3 separate regions of the Homo sapiens genome follow, and regions 1 and 2 are each linked to region 3. The links are contacts of gene promoters, found by promoter capture Hi-C in human tissues and cell types (Jung and others, 2019). All regions are on one chromosome and are shown on one strand. Each heading gives the region's core, a stretch centred on a gene start or on the middle of the fragment in contact. The rest is flanking DNA. Distances are from core to core; before and after follow the strand shown.

Region 1 (4,782 bases), core at 1,752-4,251, 440 kb after region 3:
CGATTGTAACAAATGTACCACAGTAATATGAGATGTTAATTATGGGGAAACTGGGGGTGGGAGTGAGGGGGTGTATGGGAACTTCCTGTGTTTTCTAGTCAATTTTTCTGTACACCTAAAACTGCTAAAAAAAATTAAGTCTACTAATTTACTGAGTGAGTTTTTATATATATAAGCCCCTGAATTCTGGAATCATACTCCCTGGGTTCAAATCCTGACATACCACTTAAAACCTTGTAACTTTTAGGCAAATAGCTTAATCAATCTGTGTCCCAATTTCCCCATATAGAAAACAGGGATAAAAACAGAGCCTAATTCATAGAGTTATTGTGAGGATTAAATGTCATATGAGTCCTTTGAACTAAGCTTGGTACATATTAAATACATATAAGTGATATCTACAGTTAGTGTTCTTATTTGCTCATGAATACTTACTTGAAGAAGATCTGAACTTATTTGGGGAACCATTCCTTGAATATACTCTACACGGTGAAGAATGGGGTCTTGAATGTGTAAATTTTCGTGTGTGAGGATGCGACCTAAGCCAGTCTGGTATAATCGCCATTTTGCACATTAAATCCCTGTGATATAAAAGAAAACAGATTACGTTACCTTAAAGAGCATACATTCCAAATGTGGCCAATTTCCTATCTATTCCTTTTCTGAAGGGACAGCTGCAGAGTGTAAAAATGATGCTAGTCATAATCTGCTTTGCTGATGTTTCAGACTATTCTTAAAGTGAACACAAAAATCATCATTTTGGACTCCTTGTTTTCAGCATATCCAATAAACTTCAAAAACGGCAAAATAAAGAGACTTTTGGACAGAAAAATCCACCTACATCTTGACTATCAGTGACTCATTTCTTTGGTAGGCAGTAAGGGGAAGAAAGTTTGGATTCTCTGAGCTTTTTTGAAGTGCCTCAGTATAAATTCAACATGCAGTCAGAGGCAAAGCTGGGATGACAGGAGCGAAACTGGTGGAGTAAGGACCTCCGAAAATCCTCTCCTTCATTAAATCAATGAGGACACTGGGAAAAATTGTTGAAATCAATTTTTTTTCAGAACTCTGGAAATTAACCAAAGGCTTACAGCAATCTGGGGAGCATTTATTCCCCCAAAATGGCTGAATCTCAATATGAAGAACATGCCTTGTGGCATTTTAACTTGCCTCATTCCCATTCTCCCTCACCTGCCTCCCCCTGCCCCAACAGCTTGGATGTAGCCTTGAAAACCATCAGCCTGCAATCACAGGGAAAACCCAGCAGGCTGACAGTCACTGGAGTGGACAGAACAGGGCTGGAGCTCTGTCAAAGCCTCCTTACCCGGAACTTATCATTATTTGACCTGATGTTTCCCTGAAAGATCCTACTCCCAAGGCTGTCTTTATTTGAACTCAGAGTTCACTCAGTGAACACAGCCTATCATGAAGAGGCATTTGTTAGAAGAAATCAGAGGCAATTGTTGTTTAAAATCATGGCTACCTGAATAGGTGGATAACGGGGCAAATAATAGGCAACCAAAAAGCTTCAAGGGAAAAGCTGGGGAATGAGATGTCGATAGGGACTTGAAAAAGCGCCCACATATTCTTGGGAATCTAGGAAGTCACTCAGTACACAGAGCTAGAACCATTCCCAGGGAGAGGTGTGTGCTCAGGAAAGACCTGAGAAGGCCCTAACCTCTCACCTCCAACTGACCTTCAAGCTCTGCACAAGCAGGAAATGAAGGCTAAGACAGAGTTATAAACTGCCTAGCTAAGTGTTGAAGGAATGCTCCAATACAAAAAGCCCCTCAGCAAAAATTGGGAGATACTGTTCCCAGGCATTTACGGAAATTTCTATCCAACCATGAGCTGACCACTAAGCTAACCAATCAGACTCTAGTGGCCATATATAACAAAGAATACAGACTTTATAAATTTTAGAAAACTCTATAAACAAATGAACAACAAGCAGTTAACAACAACAAAACATGGAAAGGGATGAGAATATGATTTCCACAACTACTACATTATATTATTTAAAATGTCATGGGCCTAGCATGATGTCTCATCTCTGTAATCCCAGCATTTTGGGAGGCTGAGGCAGGAAGTTCAAGACTTGAGCCCAGAAGTTCAAGACCAGACTGGGCAACATACTGAGACTCTGTCTCTACAAAAAAAATAAAAATAAAGAAGATTGACCAGGCATGGTGGCATGCACCCATGGTCTCAGCCACCAGGAGGCTGAGATGGGAAGAGCAGTTGAACCTGAGAGGTTGAGGCTACAGTGAGCCGTGATTACGCCACTGCACTCCAGCCTGGGCAACAGAGAAAACTCTGTCTCAAAATAAATAAATAAATAAAATGTCCAGTTTTCAACAAAAATTTATGAGATGTGCAAAGAAACAAGGAAGTGTGGTCCATACTTATTTTCAGAAACTATGCAAGAAAGAAAAGAGTAGAGTGAAATATTTAACGTGTTGAAATAAAAACCCCACCAACCTAGAATTCCAAACTCAATGAAATTACTCTTCAAAAGTGGATGTGGATGAGAAATACTTCCCTGAGCAAACAAAAATTGAGAGAATGTGTTGCCAGCAGACTTACTTCCAAGAAATGTTAAAAGGAATTCTTCAGAAAGGCAAGGCAAGGTGCAGTGGCTCATGCCTGCAATCTCAGTGCTTTGAGAGGCTGAGGCAGGAGAACTGCTTGAGGCCAGGAGATCAAGACCACCCTGGGCAACAGAGCAAGGCCCTGTCTCTACCAAAAAAAAAAAAAAATATATATATGTGTGTGTGTGTGTGTGTGTGTGTGTGTGTGTATATGTATATATACACATATATATGTGTACATATACACATATATATGTATATATACACATATATATGTGTATATATACACATATATATGTATATGTACACATATATATGTGTATATATACATATACATATATACACACACACACACACACACACACACACACACACACACACACATATATATATATGCCAGGCATGGTGGCATGCACCTGTAGTCCTAGCTACTTGGGAGGCTCACATGGTAGAATCACTGAGCCCTGGCATTTGAGGTTACAGTGAGCTATGATCATGTCACTGTACTCTAGACTGGGTGACAGACTGAGACCCTGTCTCTAAATAAATTTTTTTTAAAAAGAAAGAAACAAAAGAAAATGAAAGAAAGATATATGTCAGAAACTCAGATCTATATTAAAAAAAGGAAGAGCATTTGAGAAAGGGCAAGTGAAGGAAAAATAAACATATATGCACCTAACAAGAGCCCCAATATACGTGAAGCAAAAACTAACTAAATTGGAAAATAGATACTTCAACAATTATAGTTAGAAACCTCAATATCCACATTTAATAATGGGTAGAATAACTAGACAGAAGATCAACAGAGACATAGAAGATCTGAACACCACCACAAACCAACTAGACCTCACAGACAACTAAAGAACACATCCAACCAACAATAGTAGAATATCATTCTTCTCAGCACACATGGATCATTCTCCAGTATAAACCATATCTTGGACCATAAAACAAGCCTCAATACATTTAAAAGGATTGAAATTATCAGAGTATAATCTCCAACCATACAGAATGAAAACAGAAATTGAATAATTCACAAATACGTGGAAATTAAACAACACACTCCTAAATAACCAATGAGTCAAAAAAAAAATCAAAAGAGAAATTACCAAATAGTTTTAGATGGATGAAAATGAAGGCACAACATATAAAAACTTACAGGATGCAGCTAAAACAGTGCTTAGATGAAAATTTGTAGATGTTAATGCCTATATTTTAAAAAGAAGAAAATCTCAAATTACTAACCTGTTTATTCCTTAAGAAACTAGAAAAATAAGAGTAAACTAAAGCCAAAGTTAGTAGAATGAAGAAAACAATAAAGATTGGAGCAGAAATAAATGAAATCAAGAATAGAAAAATAGACAAAACTAATCAAAGTTACTTCAAAAGATTATCAAAATTGACAAATTTTTAGCTAGACCAGCCAAAAACAATGAGAAAACACTCAAATTATTAAAATCAGTGATGAAAGGAGACATTACCACTAACCTTACAGAAATAAAAATGATTATAAGGGAATACTATACACAACTGTATGCTAACAAATTAGGTAACCTAGATATAATGGAAATATTCTTAGGAAGATGTAAGATACTAAAACTGACTAAAGAAAAAACAGAAATCTAGATAGAATTATGACAAAAAGATTGAATTAATAACCAAAAAACTTCCTGCAAAAGAAGTCCAGAACCAGGACCAGATGAGTTCACTAGTAAATTCTACCAAACATTTAAAGAAAAATTCAAGGCTGGGCATGGTGGCTCACACCTGTAATCCCAGCACTTTGGGAGGCCAAGGTGTGTGGATCACCTGACGTCAAGAGTTTGAGACCAGCCTAGCCAACGTGGCGAAACCCCGTTTCTACTAAAAATACAAAAATTAGCCAGGCATGGTGGCGCATGCTTGTTATCCCAGCTACCCGGGAGGCTGAGGCAGAAGAATCGCTTGAACTTGGGAGGTGGATGTTAAAGTGTGCTGAGATCAATTCACCTAACGCTTCACAAATTCTTATGAAAAATAGAAGAAAAAACATTTCTCAACACATCCTATGACGCCAGTATTACCCTGATACCAAATCAGAAAAGACATTAGAAAAAAAGAAAGTGGCCGGGCACAGTGGCTCACGCCTGTAATCCCAGCACTTTGGGAGGCCAAGGCAGGCAGATCACGAGGTCAGGAGATCAAGACCATC
Region 2 (4,165 bases), core at 1,481-3,980, 340 kb after region 3:
TCACCACAATACAGTAGAGCTTTCTCTGTGCGTGGCTCTTTTTCCTGACAGTGTGCTGCACTTGTGGGGCTCATCTGAACCTCAGTTACTGTGATCAGAGAGATGCCACGAATGCAGGGTGAGCCTTGCTGGACCATCTCCTCTCCCCACGAGACCAACTCATCGGCCATCTTGCACACCTGTGGTTTTGGTCTCAAACAAGACCAATAAAGGGACCATGGACCAGTGCTGAGACCTCAGTGGCTGGGAAGCTGGGAGCCCCCCCTCCTGTGTGTGCAGCACATTGTAGCTGTCTCATCCACATGATAACTGAGGGCACAAATTCCCTATTTAGAACTGCAAGGACAGCAGACTTCTCAGCCTCTCCCTTTCTGTTGACAATGACCATGATGCCCTACGTTGTCAGACCCCCTTTCCCTCTATGGCCTCTTTCATCCCTGAGCTCGGGGCCCGTCAGTGTACATGTGTGCTCCTGAAGGCCAGGACTACCCCCTCTGGAGACCAAAACCAAGTTCAATGTGGACTTGGCTCAGAAAGGGAGACTGTCAGAATCTCATCACAATATACCATTGGGTGCTTCTCTTTTCTGATGTTCTACTAGACCATCCTACCTTTCCCATGAAACAATGAATGACAGTCAGTTTACCTGCGGAACCATTCTAAGATTTGTTTGGGAGTTTTTGTTGCTGCGTCTATACAGCCATCTTAGCTTCTTCCGTTTGTGCAGAAACAATAAGCCTACGCCTACCACCACTTTTCAGAAACATATGCTGGCTTCCTGAGTCTAAGCTCCTCACATGACTTGTTAGAACCTTCTTTTTCTATAGACGGCCAGCACTGGCATGAAGAGATGCTTTTTACAGCAGATTTTATCCACCGGGTACCCCTGACCTAGGGGCTGGAGAGCTCTTTGCTGTGGGGACTCACTGCAGAGTGTTGAGCAGCATCCCTGGCCTCCGCCCACTAGATCAGTGCAGGTTTGGATCTTAATCCTGAAAGATGCAATCCCAAATGCCATAATCCCAAATGTTGAACTCCCAAAAGATCAAAATCTCTAAATTCTAAAGCCCCTAATGCCTAAAATCGCAAAAAGCACAATCTCGAAAGATTAAAACCCCAAAGCCAAATTCTAGGCAAGGGATTTGTGTGTTTTCAGTTGTACACAGCATAGTTGCATCATGTTAGGTGGAACTACAACCTTGCTATTGTCGTTATTTGGAAATTAAGTTTGGTTTAAGGAGATGCCTCTGGGTACCAAGTTGCCGAGAGCAGATTTGTGGACTTAATTTCAGGTGTCAACTTGACTGGATGAAGGCACACCTAGAAACCTGGTAAAGCACTGTGTTGGGCGTGCCTGCGAGGGCGTTTCTGGAGATTAGTGTGTGGGTCTGTGGGGGCAGGAAGGGTGCGGGGGGAAGATTTGCCCTCAGTGTTGGCGAGCACCATCCAATCAGCTGGGAGCCCAGAGAGAACACAGCTCTCCCTCGGAGCTGGGACATTTTCTGCCGCTGCCTTGGACATCGGAAATTTGACTCCACAAAAATGCATTATCACAACGTTGCCTTAGTGTGTGAGCATTGTGTGTGTTGTGTACAAACACTGAAACTCGCTCAGTATATGAAGAGACGTCATTTTTGTTCACTGCATTTGTAAAAGATAAAATTTCTCAAGATCTTGGCTCTTTGGGCAACTGTACAGGCAGTGGTGACCCATCGCGGATTTTGATTGATCTTGCAAAAGACTTAGGTTATCTGTCACGGTATTCTGAATGACTGCAGTTATGAAACTGGGTGCATGCGATTACCCACCATAGGGATATGCATTTACATGTTTCACTTTTTGACCTATTTCTTTAGGAATATGGTTCATCTGCTCATATCTGTCACACCTATGTGATGGTCACTAGTATATCTAAGTGTTTATGCTTGAAAAATATGTGTCATTTTTGCCTATTTTTTGTGTAAAGTGGCCTCTGAAGTGTTCTATTGTGTTTTTATGTTTCTCAAATAAATCCCCTTTTACAATGTAAATAAATATTTTTAAAACAATTTTTTTTTTTTGAGATGAAGTTTTCCTCTTGTTGCCCAGGCTGGAATGCAATGGTGAGATCTCGGCTCACTGCAAACCTCTGCATCCTGGGTTCAAGCAATTCTCCTGCCTCAGCCTCCCGAGTAGCTGGGATTACAGGCTTGCGCCACCACGCCTGGCTAATTTTGTATTTTAGTAGAGATGGGGTTTCTCCATGTTGGTCAGGCTGGTCTCGAACTCCTGACCTCAGGTGATCCACCCACCTCAGCCTCCCAACGTGCTGGGATTATAGGCGTGAGTCACCGTGCCAGCCTAAATAATTTTTAATTTTTTTTTTCAGAATTATATTTTCATGATTTTGATCTTCTGAGGTTTCAACCTTAAGGATGATGGCATTTGTGTCTTTTGGGGTTATGATCAGCTCCCATCAGTAGCTTCCCCACCCTCAGTGTGACAACCAAAAATGTCTGTGACATTGCCAGATATCTCCTGGGAGGAAAAATTGTCCCCATTTAAGAACCACTGTTTTAAAGTAAATAAAACTTTAAGTTTAATTCTGACAGCCTCTCTAGACAACGTGCTATTGGACAAGAAAATTAAAAAGAAACAGAAGTAACTTCACATAACGAATGAACTCAGAGGTTGCAGCTCTGGAGCAGAGAGGGAGCGCTCTGATTACCTGCAAGGCTGTTAACAGGCGCAGTTCATTAAATATTCACAAATCCCCGAGACAGGGACAGGACCCACAAAATGGGAATTAACTCCATGGTATATTTTACTTTACAGTAGAGCACAGCACTTTCAATGAACGTGCCAAGATTATAAAGCCTGTTTTTTTCTTTAAGATTCATAGAGGGCAATGAATACAGGATACGCATCAACATAAAATACTTCTCAGAGCAGAAAGCTAAATTCTAAAATTTCATATTATTAAATTTTTTAAAAAACATTTTGGGGCCCCATCACAAGATATTTGGTATTGCAAATCTGAGGTTATAATAGATATTAAAACGAAAACAGAAATAATGATAGACAAATAATCTCCATGACCCATGATATCTGGGCCACTCAGTGGCTGGAAAACAAATCAACATATATTGTTCCTTTCCATGTAACACCTAACAAATACACGTTTACCTACAATGTTACAAGGATATGCTTAGAGCTAGGGAGCAGTGCTTGCCGTGGCGGCCTGTGTGCCTGGAGCCTTTGTGGTCCATAGCTGTCTCCACCACACTCTGAGCAGGTGATGGAGTTCAGATTGTATCATCTTATGTTTCTCATCTAGAAATTGACATAACAATTATACCAACCTTATAGTTTAAGGCAGTTTTCAATAAGAAAAATTTGTAAGCAGTAAATCACTATATAAAAGTTGGCAATTATTCAATGGAGACTAATCGATCATTCAATAAATGCAGAAAAAGTAGCACAGATATTCTCTGATATTTTACATATTATGATATGTGTAACTAAAATTTGTTTTTTTTTTTTTTTTTACATACCTATTTCTTTTTGTCAGGGGACCTTTACTGCTAACTTGCAACCCCTGAGGCTCATGAAATGATGTTAGAAATTGCTTCCAATTGATTTTAGTGGTGGCTTTAAGTCCAAATCTGGATTTAAAAGTAACAACAAAAAACATTACTTTAAACATTTTTTCTATAACACTGCATGGATTAGGTACTTAATGTTGAATTGAAAATGGCAGCAATGCATTTATATGAAGTTTCAAATCTAATATAAACAAAATCACTTAGTAAAATAGTACTACAAATTGATTTTTTAAAGCAAGGAAAAATCAAACTGATATTAGATCTGCATGCCTCTATATTGTTAATGGTGGCATACACTGAAAGAAGAATCTAAGGGATTTGATTAAAATAATAATGTCCATAAAATAATTCTTTCAAATTCATCATGTGAAGAGCCTCTATGTTGTGGCAGGGAGGACAATGGCCCCCATGGGGTCCACCCTCTAATCCTGAGCCTCTGTGACTACGTTCTTGCCCCAGCAAAGAAACATGGTAGATGTGGTGGAGGGCGGATCTGGAGATGGAGCAACTCTCCTGGTTTATCCAAGTGGGCCCACTCTAATCCCATACATTCTTAAAATTGGAGAGCTTTTCCTAGCTGC
Region 3 (4,220 bases), core at 521-3,020:
ACCTTTAAACACTTGGGTGTCCTTGGTGTGGAGTGTGGGGAGAGGACATGGGAGTTTGAGGAGAGAGAGGGAGAAGCCACTTGTCCCCATCGGTTCTCTGCCATGCTCCCGCTCCTGTCTGGGCTGGAGACTCCCCTGCAGGGCGACCCAGCCCTCCTAGCACAGGCTGCTCCCTTTGACTCTGGTTTGCTTATGCTGGGGACATGCTGCTGGGGTTTCACAGTCACAGGGCTTCCACGGAGAGGGTCGTGGAGGAGACAGAGTCAGATACAGAGAGACACGAGGAGGGACACAGGTGGGGATAGGCACGCCCAGGAACAGTCACTCAGAGGTGAGGGACCCCAAAGCTTGGGAGAGACACCCACAGACACAAGGGGGATGATGGGGCAGCAGGGCTGGGCTTCCAGGAGGGGTGTTGCTGTGGAAGAGTCTCACAGGCCCAGCATCCTCACTCGGGGCACGCGGGACCACCAGGAATAGACCCTACGCCACCCATACCAGACCTCAGGAAGCCGGGAAGGACGTGCAGGACCCTCCCCCTGCCTCCCCCTCCAAGCAGAGCACCGGAGGAAGCGCCTCTGATGACGAGGAGGGGAGAATGTGACTCCAGCTTTTCGGGAAGCCCCTGAAGACAGAGAGCAGGAGGGGACCGGGTGGGAGGGTGGGGGGGTCCCCGTGAAACCCACGGGCCTGGGCCTGTGGCCTCCGGGTCTCCCCCTCCCCTTCCTGGGTCTGCTCCACCGACGTCCCGCGTCCGGACTCTCCTCCCTGTGTCTGTCCTCCGGATCCTCTGCCTTCCTTCCCTCTGTCTTTCCTCCCCGTCCTGTCAGACGGTCCCGGTCCCTCGTCTGCGGCTTTCCAGGTATCTCTGTCCCTCTCTCTTTCCCGGTCTCCCTCTCACCGCCCCCCCCAACCCCGTTTTTCTGCGGCGTCCATCTGTCCCCCGTCTCCTCCTCTCTCTCTCCCTTATCATCGGTGGGACCATCCCTCTTGATTCCCCCTGATCCACCGGCCTCCTCCTCCTTCCCCGGGCGGTGCGGGCCTCCTCTCTACCCTTCCGCATCTGTCTTTTCTCCGGGCTTCCTTTTGTCTGCTCCCTCGGCGCCGGCTCTTCTGTCCGTCTGTCCCGCACCTCCCGCCCCGTCCCGGTCTCTCGGTCCGTCCCTTTCCCCGTCCACCTCCTGGCGTGTCCCCCTCCGCCCGCCCCGCCCCGCGCCCCCTCTCCCAGGAGGAGCGCCCCTCTGCGCTCGGGGTCCCGCCCCGCCCAGGTCCGCACGCGGGGTCCCCGGGAACCGCCGCCTTTCTTCCTCGCTCCCGCGCTCGCGCTTCCCCTCCCGGGGCCCCGGCCCACCCACCCCTGGTGCGGCCCCGCCGGACTCAGGAGCCCCGGCCGCCCGGGCTGCGGGGAGGGGGCGCCCCGGGCCGGCCCTAGAAGTTACTTTGCAAAGAGGCAGGGGGCGCGGGGCCGCGCGGGGCGAGCTCGGGATCCGCGGGGAAGAAGCCCTCCGGGACCGCGCCTCGGCCGCCCGAGCCCCCCGCGCCCGCCGCCCCCCACCTCGGTCGGGGGCTTACCTGGGAGCCCGCTGCCCCCGGCCAGCCGCCCGCGTGTGCCCAGGGCCAGCAGCACGCACAAGTGCCAGCGCACGGCCGCCGCGCCCATGCTCAATGCGGGCCCCGCTGGGCGTGCGGGCGTGCGGGGCGCGGGGACCCGACCGACCGGCCGCTCCCGCAGGCGCTGCTCGCTGCTCGCCGCTCCGCCACCGCTCGGGCTCCCGAGCCGCCCAGCCAGCCCGGCTGATGAGCTGACAGCGCGCGCTCATTGGCCCGTGGCGTCGGAGGGGCGGGGCGTCGCCCAGGGCCGGCCAATGGGCGCCGGCCTCCGGCCCTCCGAGGAAGAGGGGGGCTCGGGCGTCGTCGGGGGGACCCTTCCCCTGGGGCGGGCGGCAGGTGGGGGGTGTGGGCCTGGCCGGCCGGCTCGCTAGGCGCGGGGTCTAGGCCAGGCTGGGGCTGCTTGGAGGCTGCGCCCTCCCCTGCCCGCGGCGCCCCGGCCCCCGCCGTCGAGAGTGGACGCCCCTCTGGGGTAACCCCTCCCGGCCCAGAGGCAGCCTCGGGGGCGGGGATCCTGCGAACCGGGGATCCCGTGAGGTCGCCCGCCATCCGTGGGCAGTGAAACGCGCCAGCGCGCAGAGCAGACTCGCCTGCGCTGCCGTTTGCTGGACGTTTCTTGAGCACCTACTGGGGACCGAGTGCGGGCGAGGCAGCAGCGAAGGAACCGGGAGGGGAAACCTCGTGAAGATCACTTGAAAATTGACGTTCAAAACAAACGAACTTTTTAGCACTCGTCAAAGGACAGTGGCCCGTCAGTGTGCTTGTCACGGGGCGGCCGCAGGACCTGCGTCTGGAACCGGGCGGGCGCCCGGGACGGACAATGCCGCTTGGCGGTCGGTCCCGCGGGAGGCCCCCGCACGGGGCTAACCTCGGCCGGCGAAGTTCGCTGCCCGGAATGCGAGGCCGAGGCCTCCCCCTGTGACAGACCGGGCGGGGCCAGGAGGAGGGGCAGGGCGGGCATCCCGGTCCGAAGACCCAGGAACTGCTCTGGCCTGGCCTGGGGTCTACACCTGACGCCTGGCGAGGGTTGGCTTCGGGTCTGGTCCCACCGGGCCTGGGAGGGACGGGCGGCTGGAAATAAATGGCCCCTCTCAGTTCCAGGCAGGACGCTTTAAGGGACGAAAGTTCAGCAAACCCCAAGGCCCATCTCCTTGACAACCACCAATAAGAGCTCCTTTTTTCTTCTCCTGCTCTCCAGGCCCAACTCAAAGACAACTCTTTTCTCTTTTTGTCCACTCTGCCTGCACCAGTTTGAGCCCCTCCACACCAGCTCCCTTTCCTGCCCCCAACACACACACGCACACACACACACACACACACACACACACACACACACACAGTCACACATGCAGACACATGCTCTCACGTGCAATCACTCAGACACAGCCTCACACCCTCACACCCTCCAGCACACACACGCTCACACATGCTTCTTCACGCCCTCATCCAACCTACCGTAGACGAGCTCCTCAGCCCTGGAAGGTTAAATCTGTGTCCAGCCAGCTCTCACACCCCATCTGACTTCACATCAGCTTGTGGCACGGGCCTGGTGGCTGAGGCAAGGGGTCCCCTACATGGGGATCGGGGGTGTGGGGGGTCCAGAGATGCCCAAAGAAGAAGGAAGCGCTGCCTGTTGTCTCCACTGAGCCCCCACCCCATTGCTCCAGACATTTCGGTCTGCACGGCTGCTCCTGGCTGCTGGTTTAATTTGGGAGATGCTGTTGACAGGCTTTATTTTGTCCCCGTCAATTGTGTAGCTTTGAGTTTCTGCAGGGGGTGGGGAGTTCCCTCAGAACCACATATTATCTTGTGCATTGGGCAACAGGGCAAGCAGTGTGAGGTGGTGGGGGAGGTTCTTCCAGGGGGCTCTGACCTACTTGAAACAATGCCCTCTAATGTGCCTGGTCATTAGGCACCCCCCCGCCCAGCCCTAGCCAGGTGCCCCTCAAGCTTGATGGCAGCAAGAGAAGCTTCTTCCAGGCTCCATCCCCACAAATCAAGGCAGGAATGGAGGCAGGTTACTCTGTGACCCCTCAGCCCAGAGGTAGCTGTCCCTTGTACCAAGTTGTAGTCCCCAGCCTGCCCCCAAGCGATTGCTCAGGTCAAGTTTGCTGGTGAATTATCACCCTCTAAGGTGTGCAGGCAGAGAGAAAGTGGTTCCTTCTAGGCAGCTGTTGTCTATGTGGAGGACTCAGCGAGCAGAGGAGGAGGGAAATGGAGAGAAGACACACCTGTAAGCCCCTCACAGGTGAAGGAAAGGAGGCGGCCTGTGGAGCAGAGAAAGAGGAGGTCACTTCTGCCCCAGGGCGCCGTCAGGGAGGCCTCTTAGGACAGGTGACCTGGGCTAGACACAGAACATAAAGAGGATATTTGCCTAATGGATGAGAAGAACAAATAGAGAATCTGCCAAGGTCCATGAGTGAAGGCGAGGACTGAATAAGTGAGCCAGAGAATGTTCTGGAAGCATCTTGAAAACTGCAGAGCACTGTATGCACATGACAGTGATGTGCTGGAGGGCTGCGTGCAGAAACGGATGAGTCTGTTTTGCACTGCGGTGGGCTGGCAGGTGGGAACCCATAGCCAGGCCTCCAGCACGGGATGGCTTGGAACCT

What was found. Contacts are between HindIII fragments. The study calls those that stand out against the background at their distance.
Region 1: a contact is called between a fragment that was not itself captured here and the fragment with the promoter of SCUBE1 in region 3, in 1 of the 25 tissues and cell types used here (dorsolateral prefrontal cortex).
Region 2: a contact is called between a fragment that was not itself captured here and the fragment with the promoter of SCUBE1 in region 3, in 2 of the 25 tissues and cell types used here (H1 embryonic stem cells and dorsolateral prefrontal cortex).

The regions. Positions count from the first base shown.
Region 1 is chr22:43,781,745-43,786,526 of GRCh38, forward strand. EFCAB6 (EF-hand calcium binding domain 6) reads right to left here. Exons shown (of 32, transcript NM_022785.4): 3 at 436-581. The coding sequence starts at 574. Among named protein-coding and RNA genes, the nearest start is that of EFCAB6, 28 kb to the right of the region's middle. The HindIII fragment of the contact is 4,110 bases long and covers 947-4,782 here.
Region 2 is chr22:43,683,938-43,688,102 of GRCh38, forward strand. EFCAB6 (EF-hand calcium binding domain 6) reads right to left here. Exons shown (of 32, transcript NM_022785.4): 11 at 3,534-3,644. Among named protein-coding and RNA genes, the nearest start is that of EFCAB6, 130 kb to the right of the region's middle. The HindIII fragment of the contact is 6,599 bases long and covers 1-4,165 here.
Region 3 is chr22:43,341,602-43,345,821 of GRCh38, forward strand. It overlaps SCUBE1 (signal peptide, CUB domain and EGF like domain containing 1), which reads right to left and starts at 1,771. Exons shown (of 22, transcript NM_173050.5): 1 at 1,573-1,771. The coding sequence starts at 1,660. The HindIII fragment of the contact is 4,801 bases long and covers 1-4,220 here.